4 separate regions of the Homo sapiens genome follow, and all the other regions are linked to region 1. The links are contacts of gene promoters, found by promoter capture Hi-C in human tissues and cell types (Jung and others, 2019). All regions are on one chromosome and are shown on one strand. Each heading gives the region's core, a stretch centred on a gene start or on the middle of the fragment in contact. The rest is flanking DNA. Distances are from core to core; before and after follow the strand shown.

What was found. Contacts are between HindIII fragments. The study calls those that stand out against the background at their distance.
Region 2: a fragment that was not itself captured here is called in contact with the fragment with the promoter of NRROS in region 1 in 1 of the 25 tissues and cell types used here (spleen).
Region 3: a contact is called between a fragment that was not itself captured here and the fragment with the promoter of NRROS in region 1, in 1 of the 25 tissues and cell types used here (aorta).
Region 4: a contact is called between a fragment that was not itself captured here and the fragment with the promoter of NRROS in region 1, in 3 of the 25 tissues and cell types used here (H1 embryonic stem cells, spleen and thymus).

What each region holds. Positions count from the first base shown.
Region 1 is chr3:196,638,011-196,641,181 of GRCh38, reverse strand. It overlaps NRROS (negative regulator of reactive oxygen species), which reads right to left and starts at 1,488. Exons shown (of 3, transcript NM_198565.3): 1 at 1,307-1,488. RefSeq lists an enhancer at 732-851 and silencers at 1,302-1,401, 1,422-1,851. The HindIII fragment of the contact is 16,873 bases long and covers 1-3,171 here.
Region 2 is chr3:196,887,805-196,890,975 of GRCh38, reverse strand. The region is part of intron 2 of SENP5 (SUMO specific peptidase 5); the gene reads right to left. Among named protein-coding and RNA genes, the nearest start is that of SENP5, 21 kb to the right of the region's middle. The HindIII fragment of the contact is 3,556 bases long and covers 1-3,171 here.
Region 3 is chr3:196,434,670-196,437,840 of GRCh38, reverse strand. No RefSeq gene overlaps it. Among named protein-coding and RNA genes, the nearest start is that of UBXN7, 3.8 kb to the right of the region's middle. The HindIII fragment of the contact is 4,935 bases long and covers 1-3,171 here.
Region 4 is chr3:196,821,449-196,824,619 of GRCh38, reverse strand. The region is part of intron 13 of PAK2 (p21 (RAC1) activated kinase 2); the gene reads right to left. Among named protein-coding and RNA genes, the nearest start is that of SENP5, 45 kb to the left of the region's middle. The HindIII fragment of the contact is 5,691 bases long and covers 1-3,171 here.

The DNA.
Region 1 (3,171 bases), core at 239-2,738:
AAGCTGAGTTTGTTTTGTTTTGTTTTGTTTTGTTTTGTTTTTTTAACCTAAAGGCAGGAGTTAAGGTTTTTTCCTGGGCCCATGATTCTATAATCTCCTTTAGGGACTCTCGGGCACACACACACAAACCTAAGAGGTGTGTGAGGAGAATAAATACGTATTGTAAATGTAAAGCCCAGCAAACCCTCAGCATCCACAGAACAGTCTGTGTGTCACAGCCGGCAGGTGAGGAGCACACAGGAAAGCATGGAGGGCCACAGACGCTGAATGTTTCTAGCACCCAGACTCCTAACGGGCTGTGCCCATCATGAAGAAGCCTCCGGTGGGGTCCCCTCAGCCCCTAGGGAAGCACAGCAGCCCCGACCAGCCCTGTCCGGAGAGGCTCCATTCCTAGGACCCCCGATCCGGCCTCCTCCAGTCGCAGCCACCAACTGGCACGTGTCCACCTTCTCTCAGAGGCAGCACAAAGCCACACCAGTGGCTCCTTACTTCTTTCCGTCTAGCTCCTGGGTACGTGGGGAAGTACGCTGACCCCTTCAGAAGCCGGCCCACATGCAGGGGCCACGAGGGCTACGGAAGAGCGTCCGAGTCTTCGTCGCCCTCCTGTTAGTCTCCCTCTGATAAGCCATGGATCTAAGTCTAGGCTAAGATCCAAGTCACAGAGCCCCAGTGAATCTCCCAAGGACAAACGTTCTGTGGGAGAAGGGGCTTTGCACATTTTCACAGCTGTATCCCCAGGGCCTTGGACAGGCCTGGCACGTGGACGGCATCTGTGATAGGTGTTGCTGTTAACCAGTCTTAGTGTCTTCATCTATGAGATAGTGGTTCTCAATCCACGTTGTGGGACAGGAAAGGAGAGCCCAGTGCTCAGCATGCTGAGTGTGCACAGAGCGGTCTCATCATATCCAGTCGCCCAGCCCAGGGAGGGAGCATCTCTGTTCCCATTTTGCAGATGAGAAAACTGAGGCTCAGAAACCTTAACTGTCTGCTCACATGCTCCCTGCAGAGCCAGGACTCAAACCCACGTCTGAATCTGAAGCCCTCGTGGTTTCCACTACGTCGCACCACCTTTCTCAGCTCTAAGTGCTCCTGGAGGGAGGTATTTCCACCTCCACCCAGAGCTGCAGCCCCCACGCCCAGCACAAAAGCGGCGGCGCTTGGACGCAGCAAGCCACAGCTTCCTCGTGAGCCCTGAGCTGCGGGCCGCGGACGCTGACCTCCTACCACCCAACCTCGCTCGAGCTCGCCCACCTGGAGAAGGGCCCCGGCTGTGCCCCGGGGACGCCCCCACGCGGGAAATACTCACGGCTCCCGCAGGCGCAGGCGGCTGCGCGGGGCGCATCGTCTCCGGGGGCTCCGGCCTCCTCGAGAGCAGCCGAACGCGGGGCTGGGCTACCTCCTTGCTGTGGGGCATCAGATTATTTTAGCACCAGCGGAAGGAACGGACGGAAACTGAAGTCACATGGAGAGCGGGCTGCTCGGCGACTCAGCACAGGCTCACTCAGACCCGGCCTCTTAGAGGGAAGCGCGGCGCGGGCGCGGGGGTGGGGCGGGCCGGGGGAGCGGGGCCCGAACACCTGCCGGCCTAGCGGCCGAGCAGCGGGGATGTTTAGACGATCTTCCAGCAATGCGACCGAGGCTCCCCCGGCTTTCTTGCGTTGGTGCCTTGGCAGGGCTGGGGGCGGCCAGCTAGGGGCCCCTTGCCTATGAGGTCTGCTGACCCAGAAACTTTGCTACGAGCTTCCAGCCAAGGACCAAGCTGAGGCCGACTTTGGGAACGGCAGCACCGTGGTAAAGAGGCACAGCCTGTCGTCTGGCAGGGTCAGCCGCTCAGCCAGTCTGTCTTCTTATCCACTCAGCCGGTCCTTGTGGATCATCTCCTTTACGGACCCTGTGTTAGAAAGAAGGGGAATTGCTTTGTCGAGGACTGTCAGAGAGTGCCAAGAGCTTCTTGATCTTAGACTGCGCGGATGGGTTTTTTTGTACCTGATGTGTACAAAGTTCCCTGCCAGCTCTTGCCAAGAATTCAAAGGAGTAAGAATAATTGATCATATAGCCATCATTGAAGCAGCGCCAGACACTGTGCTAAGAGCTTCATATGCATTACCCCAGCGCTCCTGTTCTCGAGGAACTACTGTCGTCTAGAGAAGGTGAAATATTTACAGTGCCTGCTGCGTGTGGAGTGACGTGGACCACCATAGTCGGGGGCTCAGACAAGGGGCCTCCAGTTCTGATCTCTCTCACTCCCCTTCAAATCTGAAACGTTGAACTGTCCTGCAGGATTGGGTCACCTCTCTTATAGCCTGTGATTTGGGATTGTGTGTAGCATTGTCCATCCTAAGAGAACAGGAGCCAAGTCCTTTTCACTCCAAACATCTGGCACATTGTCTCTGCTTTCTACAATATTCACTCATGGCCGGGCACAGAGGCTCAGGCTTGTAATCCTAGCATTTTGGCAGACCAAGGCAGGTGGACCGCCTGAGTGCAAGACCAGCCTGGGCAACATACTGAGACTCCATATGTACAAAAAATTTAAAACTTAGCCAGACCTGGTGGCACGCACCTGTAGTCCCAGCTATTTGGGAGGCTGAGGTGGGAGGATCACCTGAGCACAGGGAGGTTGAGGCTGCAGTGAGCCAAGATCACGCCATTGCACTTCAGCCTGTGTGATAGAGTGTGACTCCGTCTTTAAAAAAATAAAAATAATTTTAAAAATAAAATATTATCTCATAATGGTAATAACAATCACACCAATGAAAAAGCTAAATAAAGATCAAATTGTTGCAAACCCAGGTGCTTGATTCAGGCCTCTTTCTCTCTTGTATGCACATTCTCTACTTCATGTCTTTTGTGTCTACCAATCAGTTGGTAACTCCCCAATTTTAATTTCTAGCTCCAACATTCTCTTCCACGAGAGAAGATCCAGACTTGCATTTTTAACTGTCTACTGGTCAATCAACTGCTACATGTCCCAGAGTCACCATAACATGATGTATCCCAAACTCAACTCTCTCTCTTTTTTTTTGAGACAGTCTTGCTCTGTCACCCAGGCTGGAGCAGTGGCGCAATCTCAGCTCACTGCAACCTCTGCCTCCCAGGTTCAAGTGATTCTCCTGCCTCAACCTCCCAAGTAGCTGGAATTACAGGCGCCCACCACCACGCCCAGCTAAT
Region 2 (3,171 bases), core at 379-2,878, 250 kb before region 1:
GTTTTAATTAGCCAAACTTTTAATCCATCTGGAATGTTTTGCGGCACAGGAATCTATCCCTTTTCCCTCCAAAAGAAGTAACCATCCAAGTTATTTCTCTTGGATGTGCTATAATTTTACTACACTAAATTTAGTGTGAGTTTGTGTATGTATTTGTGTGTTTTAATCCTGATTGGCACTTGCAAAGCCTTTCAACTTTAGACTCAGACCTTTCTTTTCAGTTCTAGAAAACATTCCTAATTTCTTCAGTTTCCCTTCCATTATCTCCTGGCATACTCATGACATAGAGGTTAGAACTTTAAAGCGAAGCAAGAACTTAAAGAACTTGCAAAGTAATCTCAGTGCAGAGTCCTAGACTTTCACGCACGCCCTCAAATCTTTTGCAGCTGTCCTGCATGAGCGCATCAGCATTCATTTTTTTGCAGCAACCCGCTACTGTCATTGCAAAGTATTCACCTTGTTTTTCAAAGGAGGAGCTTTCTTCTTACACTCATATTTCATCATTTTATGTAATACTGAATAAAATTATGAAACTGCAACAAGTAAATCTCCCCTAAGTATAACTGACTCTTAAACATGTAAATCAACTGAAAGGAGCATAATGTGCAGTCATATTAGAGACAAGCCAGCATTCAGCACCCCACAGAACTCAATAGTGGCTAATGTTGTAGAAGTCCCTTAAAGGATTATCTATTGTACTCATTGCCCCATTAATCAATACTGAGGTTTAGTTCTGTTATTTGCTGAATTTGTCTATTTCATTGTGTTGGCTTTTCTCAGAGGATGGTGATAGACTGTTAGTTCATCTCTACTTAGGTAACTTGCTGAGAATTGAGGGCAAAGGGCTATAATGGGCAGTAGCTGCTGCTCTGCCTTGAACTATTTTCAGTGGGAATAAGGACACTAAGAACCCCAGCAGCTGTTCTGAAAATGGATGTTCCTCACTCTTGCCAAGTGTTACAAGGTGTACGTGTGTGGGTGAGTATCCTGTCTCTTGTCCTTAGAATTTTGGCTTGATAACAGATTTGTTCTTTGCTGACATGTGGCACAGGCAGGGAGAGATTCCCCAACTACTCAGTCCTTACCATGGGTGTCCCCTTTCCTCTCCACTTCCACCATCTCCAGAAATATGAGCACTCAGTATCACACCACTTCCCTGTACTAATCTTCCTTCTGCCCGCCTGGACCTTCCCTCTACTTTTTGCCCAGTGGGAGCTGATTCTCAGTTTCTGATCTACCAAAACTGTCTCCTCATTTGTGAGTATGAAGACACATGTGTTTTTAATATTTTTTCATAATTTCTATGGATTTGGTAGGAGGAAGAAGAGAGTCCATGAGCTTACTTCATTCTCTTAAACCTGAAACTGCTATTGGCTTCTGATTGATATTCTTTAGTAATTCAAGGAAGCTTCCTTTATTACTAGTTTTCTAAGAGATTTAAACCCAAAAGGAAACAATTTTACTAACAGGTTTTTCAGCACTTGCTGAGATACCATTTTTTTCCCCTTTGGCCTATTAAAATAGTGAATTATATTGTCACTACACATGAATTCTGTAAGAATTCCTACTTCCTCAGGTCATGCTACAGGTTTTACTACGTGCATATTCAATTTATCAACCGTACTTGAAAGTGTTACATCTATAAAGGTTAACTGGCATTTGTGGGTAAATGCTAATTCTTTTCAGGTGTAAGTATCATGGGTCTGCTAACCTCAGTAGGGAAATCTGGCTTTACTCTAGGACAGTATAGACAAGAGGTTTTTTGGTGTTGTTTTTTTTTTTAATTTGCTAGGACTCTGTACTTTGTGTCTTTCTATGAGGAAGAATTTATTTACTAATTTATTTATTTTTATTTTTTTTGAGACAGAGTCTTGCTCTGTCGCCCAGGCTGGAGTGCAGTGGCACGATCTCAGCTCAATGCAAGCTCCGCCTCCCCCGTTCACACCATTCTCCTGTCTTGGCCTCCCAAGTAGTGGGGACTACAGGCGCCTGCCACCACGCCCGGCTAATTTTTTAAATTTTTAGTAGGGACGGGGTTTCACCATGTTAGCCAGGATGGTCTCGATCTCCTGACCTCATGATCCGCCCGCCTCGGCCTCCCAAAGTGCTGGGATAACAGGCATGAGCCACCGTGCCCAGCCAGAAGAATTTATTATACTTAATGGTTGGAAAGAGAAAGTGCTCAGAACTGTTTCAACTACCAAGAAATAAACCTCCTAACTAGCTCCCCAAAGCCAATGGTAATAATATCTGTCCAGATGTCCTATACAAATGCATATGCACACATATATACTCACACTCATCCTACATATGTCATATATATCTTTTAACAAAATGGTTTCATACCATTTTGCAACTTACTGTTTTCACTTTTTTTCTTTCTTTTTTTTTTGTGAGAGAGTCTCGCTCTGTCGCCCAGGCTGGAGCACGGTGGCATAACCTAAGCTCACTGCAACCTCCGCCTCCCAGGTTCAAGCGATTCTCCCTGCCTCAGCCTCCTAAGTAGCTGGGATCACAGACACGCACCACAACACCTGGCTGATTTTTGTATTTTTAGTAGAGATGGGGTTTCACCATGTTGATCAGCCTCGTCTTGAACTCCTGACCTCAGGTGATCCGCCCACCTCGGCCTCCCAAAGTGTTGGGATTACAGGCGTGAGCCACAGCACCTGGCCTGTTTTCACTTTATATAGACATCTTTCAGTATCAAAATATAGATCTATATTCTTAAACAGCTGCTAGCAAACTATTGCCTGAATGGGCCATAATTTATACTATCATATTGTCTTCCAAAGAAATGTTTACACCAGTTTACCTTATGGGATAGATTTTTGACAAGAGAAGGCTTCTTAAAGCATGACGTAAAAACTAGAAGCCTCAAAGTCAAATATAGGTAAGCTTTAGGCCAGGCGCAGTGGCTCATGCCTGTAATCCTAGCACTTTAGGCAGACTGGCCGAGGCGGGCAGATTGCCTGAGCTCAGGAGTTCGAGACCAGCCTGGGCAACATGGTGAAACACTGTCTCTACTAAAATACAAAAAATTAGCCGGGCATGGTAGCGTGTGCCTGTAGTCTCAGCTACTTGGGAGGCTGAGGCAGGAGAACTGCTTGAACCGGGAAGCAGAGGTTGCAGTGAGCCGAGATTGCGTCACTGCACTCCAGCCTGGGTGAC
Region 3 (3,171 bases), core at 297-2,796, 200 kb after region 1:
ATAATATTGAGTAGACGTAATAATAGAACGCATTATTGTTACTGACTTTAAATGTCTAATTATTAACTAGGATGCTGTTTACTCTGCATTTTTGGTAGATACATTTTATTAGATTAAGGAAGTTTCTTTATGTAGTTTGTTAAGGTTTTTAAAACATTTTGTGAATGGATGTGCATTTATATCAATGGTTTTCCTGTGTCTGATCAAATGAATCAAATAATTTCTCTTATTTAATTTGTTTTACTATGGTGAATTACATTGACAGAGGTGTTTTTTTTTTTTTTTTCTGGAGTTTCTGGTGTCCAGGCTGGAGTGTGCAGGGTGCAATTATAGCTCATTCAGCTTCAAACTCCTAGACAATTGGGCTCCAGTGGTCCTCCTACCTCAGCCTCCTAGGTAGCTGGGATTACAGGGGCGAGCAACTGTGCCATTTGTAAGAGCTTTTTACTGTAAAATTATGCTTGCATTCCTGAAGTAAACCCAATAAAAAAAATATGTACATGTATGTGTGAATATGTGGATTTCTAAATTCTGATTTAATTTAAGATATCTGTTTCAGTAGCCATGAGTGAGGATGAATTCTCATTTATTATTTTGTTTGATTTGATTTCAAGGTTATGCTACCCTTATAGAATGAGCTGTTTGTTCCCATTGTTCTTTATCTGGAAGCATTTGTATAAGTTTGGGATAATCTGTTTCTTAACTTTTTTGGTAGCAATCTCCTGTAAAATCACTGGGGTGTGGTCATTTGTGTGGCAGATTTCATTTTGTTAATGGTCATAAGTCTATGCATAGTTGAGTTCCATTTTGTTAATTATTTCTTCTAGGAAACTGTCATTTATCTATTTCCTAATTCATCAGCATAAAATTATTCATAATATTCTCTTATTTTTCAAGCCACGGCTATGTCTGCTATGTCTTTTTTTCATAATATTGTTTGTGTCTTTCTCTTTGTTCTTAATCTGTCAAAGGTTTTATTATTATTTATTTTTTTATTTTTTGAGATGGAGTCTCACTCTGTCACCCAGGCGGGAGTGCAATGGCACAATCTCGGCTCACTGCAACCTCTGTCTCCTGGGTTCAAGTGATTCTACTGTCTCAGCCTCCCAAGTAGCTGGGATTACAGGCGCCCGCCACCACGTCCAGCTAATTTTTGTATTTTTAGTAGAGACGGGGTTTCACCATGTTGGCCAGGCTGGTCTGGAACTCCTGACCTCAGGTGATCCACCCACCTCGGCCTCCCAAAGTGCTGGGCCTACAGGTGTGAGCCACCACACCTGGCCTGTCAAAGGTTTTACATATTGTTATTTCAGAGAACCAGCTTTTGGTTTTATGAATCCTCTCTTCTGTATTTTGTATTCTATTTTGTCAATTTCTGCTCTTTAGCATTTTTTCTTCACATTTTTCCTTGTCTGCTGAGTTGTTGTTCCTTTATTAACTTCTTGATGAAATGCTGAGCTACTTATTTTCCAGTCTTCTTCTCTAATATAACCAGTTAAGCTTATATATTCTCCTTTAGCTTCTGTTAAAACTCCATCAGTTTCGGGCCAGGCTCTGTGGCTCACCCTGTAATCCCAGCACTTTGGGAGGCTGAGACAGGTGGATCACTTGATGTCAGGAGTTCAAGACCAGCCTGACCAACATGGTGAAACCTTGTCTCTACTAAAAATACAAAAATTAGCTGGGCATGGTGGCCTGCTCCTGTAATCCCAGCTACTTGGGAGGCTGAGGCAGGAGAATCGCTTGAACCCAGGAGGCAGAGGCTGCAGTGAGCCAAGATCCTGCCACTGCACTCCAGCCTGGGCGACAGAGAGAGACCCTGTCTCAAAAAACAAAACAAGATGAAACAAAAAAGACCCAAACAAACCAAAAAGCTCCTCAAGTTTTGGAATGTATTTCCATGACCATTCCATTTTACATTTGTGTCCATCAATTTCCTCTTTTCCATCCTGCTCTCTGCCCCGGGGCTGCCTGTGGGAACTACAAGGGGCTTCTTGCTGTGCCCTCTGTCTTCCATTTGGGTTCAGCCATTGGGGATTCCTGGCAGGAGACAGAAGAGGAGATCGAGGTCAGGGTATCTATGTCCCTGAGCTCCTCTCTGAGATTGCCTCAAGCTGCTTATTTATGTCCCTTGACAGAAGGTCATTGCTTCTTGCATGGTGGTTTGCTCTGCAAAAAAATCTCACTTGGGATTTCTCTAACTTCTCTCTGTTCTCATCTCTTTGGACGTATGGGTTGTGACAGTTCTACTGTTACTAGTATGAGATCCTCCACTGTTCCTTGTGATTTCCACATATCTTACCCAGGCTGGAGTGCAGTGGTGTCATCATGGCTCACTGCAGCCTCGACCACCTGGGCCCAAGTGATCCTCCCGCCTCAGCCTCCAGAGTAGGTGGGACTACAAGCTTGCACCACCGCACCTGGCTAATTAAACTTTTTTTTTCTTTTTTCAGAGATAGGGTCTCCCTATGTTGCCTAGGCTGGTCTCAAGCTCCTGGGCTCAAGTGATCCTCCTGTCTTGGCCTCCCAAAGTGCTGGGATTACAGGCATGAGCCACGACACCCATCCTTCATATTCATATTCTTTTTTTTTTTTTTTTTTTTTTTTTTTGAGACGGAGTCTCACTCTGTTGCCCAGGCTGGAGTGCAGTAGCTCATTCTTGGCTCACTGCAAACTTCACCTCCCGGGCTCAAGCGATTCTCCTGCTTCAGCCACACGAGTAGCTGGGATTACAGGCACGCACCATCACGCCCAGCTAATTTTGTATTTTTAGTAAAGATGGTGTTTCACCATGTTGGTCAGGCGGGTTTGGAGCTCCTGACCTCAGGTGATCCCCAGCCTCGGCCTCCCAAAGTGCTGGGATTACAGGTGTGAGCCACCGCAACTGGTCAGTCCTTCATATTCTTTAATAATCCAAAAAAGCTTTTCAAGGTTGTATTATTCATTACTTCTTTATTTATTTTTCCCAGTTCCCTGGTTATCCATGGAAACTGTCTCATTTTCTTCCCTTCTTTCCCCCCCTCCCCCCGACCATGGAATCTTTTTGGCCACCTGTCTAATTTTCTTTTATCTTATTTTTTAATTTCTAAAAAAATGCCTTCTGGAGTTGTGGATGCCACAGACTTTATCACCTTTTCCTGCACTGTTAATCAAAATCATATCATTAAATCT
Region 4 (3,171 bases), core at 485-2,984, 180 kb before region 1:
AAATTCCCTGTGCTTCACCTACTCATCCTCTCTACCCCCGATCCCCTGCCAAACCCCATAACCACTAATCATTTTTACTCTCTACAGTTGAAATAATATGTAGCCTTTTTAGACTGGATTCTTTCACTAAGCAATATGCATTTAAAGTTCTTACAACTGAAATGCAGTCGTGAGATTGTTTTAATGAACTTCTGTCCGTTCCAGTTGCCTGGAAGTTTTTCTCATTATGGGCTGCATCTGCCTGCTCCTTTGCCTGTCTGGTAAACTTTGACTGATGTCTGGGTGATTGCTGGGTCCTGGCTATTTCTGTATTCCTACCAATATGCTTTTTCCCCCCATCAGGCAGATAAAATCTTGTTGTATTTGAATGACTGGATCTATGTAATCACCAAGATCCACTATGTACAGACGAGAGAGGGAGACCTTTATTTCTTAGTTTCTTCCTCCTGGGACAGTCTTAATGATTTTCTCTTGGCCCAGAGGCACTCTCCGTGGAACTACAGTGCTTTCCTGGTCTTAGAGCCATGTGCCCTGGCCTGGTCAATGAGAAGCTTCTTGAGGCCTTGTCTATCTTCAGCTTGGAATGAGTTCCGAAGAACCTGCTTGTTTCTGAACACGTCCCCCTTCACTTCATGTACAGGCTCTGATACACGTGAAGGTCAATCTCGGTAGATTCATAGTGTCTTCTGAGCAGCTGGGGTGGAATTCTCATCTTCCTCATCCAGGCTGCCTTTTTGGTAATGTGTGCATTAGCAGTTATGCCCATATGCCTGTGGGCCAAGGTGTTTTTTTCTTTTTTTTTTTTTTTGCGACAGAATCTCTCCCTGTCGCCCAGTTTCAAGCAATTCTCCCACCTCAGCCTCTCGAGTAGCTGGGAATACAGGTGCACGCCACCATGCCTGGCTCATTTTTGTATTTTTAGTAGAGACGAGGTTTCATCATGTTAGGCTGGTCATGAACTCCTGACCTCAAGTGATCTGCCCACCTCGGCCTCCCAAAGTGCTGAGATTACAAGCATGAGCCACCGTGCCCGGCCCAAGGTGTTTTTTTTGTTTGTTTGTTTGTTTGTTTGTTTGCGGGGATCCAGCCTGGGAATGGATAGTCACAGGCTTGCAGATGATCAGCCCATCTTTGATCAGCTTCTGGATCTGCTGATAGGAGCTTGGCGCTGGTGATTTTACCGATCTCACTGAGGTTCAAGTAGACCTTTTTGCCACAGTGAAGGCCACTGGAGGCGAGCCTCTTCTGAAGCCTGAGCGTACTCCTGGCTATAGACGCAGCCCTGTAAGACTCTTCAGCTTTGTACAGGAATGCAGTTGAGTTACTTGGGAACAGATCCCGTTAGTCTTTTCTCTCTCATGTAGACTCTTCTTTCAAAATACATCCAGACTCACACCACTTTTTCCCACCTCCACTGATACTGCCCTGGTCTAGGCCATCATCACTGCTTGCCTGAATTATGACATCAGCCTCTTGACTGGTCTTCTGCTCTGCCTTTGCCTTCCTCAGGGATCTCTCAACAACGCAGCCAGGGAAATCCTATTAAAACTGAAGGAGACCACTTTGCTTCTCTGCTCAGATCTCTCTAACAGTTTCCCCATTTGGCCTCCAGTAAAAGCCAGAATCCTTCCAGAGCTCTCATAAGGCACTACGGTCTGGCCTGGTTTCTTCGCCGATCGACCGCACCTCTCGCTGTTTGCTCAGCGTACGCCAGCTGTGCTGAGGTCCAGAATCATCTCTCAATACACAAGGAACGCTCCTGCTTTAGAGCTTTTGCACTTGCTGTGCCTTCTGCTTAGAATGCTTTTCCCTCAGGTAAGTATCACGCTCTTACTTCCTGTGTCCAAATGTCACCTCAGGGAAGCCCTCCCTATGCACGCTTTTGATTTAATTTTACATTTTATTTTTATTGTATTTTTTTTGAGACAGGTCCTAGCCGTCACCCAAGCTGGAGTGCAGTGATGTGATAACAGCTCACTGCAGCCTCATCTTCCTTGGGCCCAAGTGACCCACGCACTGGGGCAGGATGATGGTTCCAATTAGCTGTGACTACAGGCACACACTAACATGCTTGGCTAATTTTTAAATTTTTTTGTAGAGATGGGGACTCACTATGTTGCCTAGGCTGGCCTTGAACTCCTAGGCTCAAGCAATCCTCCCACCTTGGCCTCCCAAAATGCTGGGATGACAGGCGTGAGCCACTGTGCCCAGCTCTCTAAGCACCTTTTGAAAGTAAACACCCTAACCTCCTTCCTGCCAGTCTCAGTACTCAAGAGTCCATTATTCAATGTATGACACATTATTCTGATTTATTTTGTTTTTCTCTTTTCCCACTAGAAGACAAGTTCTGTAAGAGCAGGAATTTTTGTGGGTTCTTTTAGACAGCATTGTGAATAGTGCTCAGCGCATGGCAGGTACCCAAACCAATACTGGCTAAATGAATGAATAACATTAGAGGGCTTTAATGTCATTCTGAAAAGTGGTCTAAACTAATCACCTCTATAGAAGTACTTTAACGGCCCACATAAACTGGAATCTTTGGCAACTGGATGAAAAGCATTCAGGAAACAGACGGTCAGAATCTGCTGCCATCTGTTGTTCGGCTTCTTTCACTTAGCACAGTACTCTCAAGGTTCAATGCTGTAACACGGATTGGCACTTCCTTCCTTTCTATGACCAAATAATATTCCACTGTTCACCAGGTTTGAATTATTTCCACTTCTGTGGCTGCATGAAGGTTTCTGTATGGATGTATGATTTTAATTCTCTTGGCTCTGTACCCAGCAGAGGAACCGCTAGGTCATCTGGTAATTCCGTATTAACTTCACACAGAATTGTCAAGTTGTTTTCCAAAGCAGATGTACCATTTTATATTTTGCAATGAACGAGATTTCTAGTTTCCTTATCTTCTCACCAACATTTATTTATTTATTTATGGAGACGGAGTTTCGCTTTGTCGACCAGGCTGGAGTGCGATGGCATGATCTCGGCTCACTGCAACCTCCGCCTCCTGGGTTCAAGTGATCCTCCTGCCTCAGCCTCCCACGTAGCTGGGATTACAGGCACCCACCACCATGCTCAGCTAATCTTGTATTTTCAGTAAAGATGGGGTTTCTCCATGTTGGTCAGGCTGATCTTGAACTTCCAACCCCAGCCTCCCAAAGTGCTGGG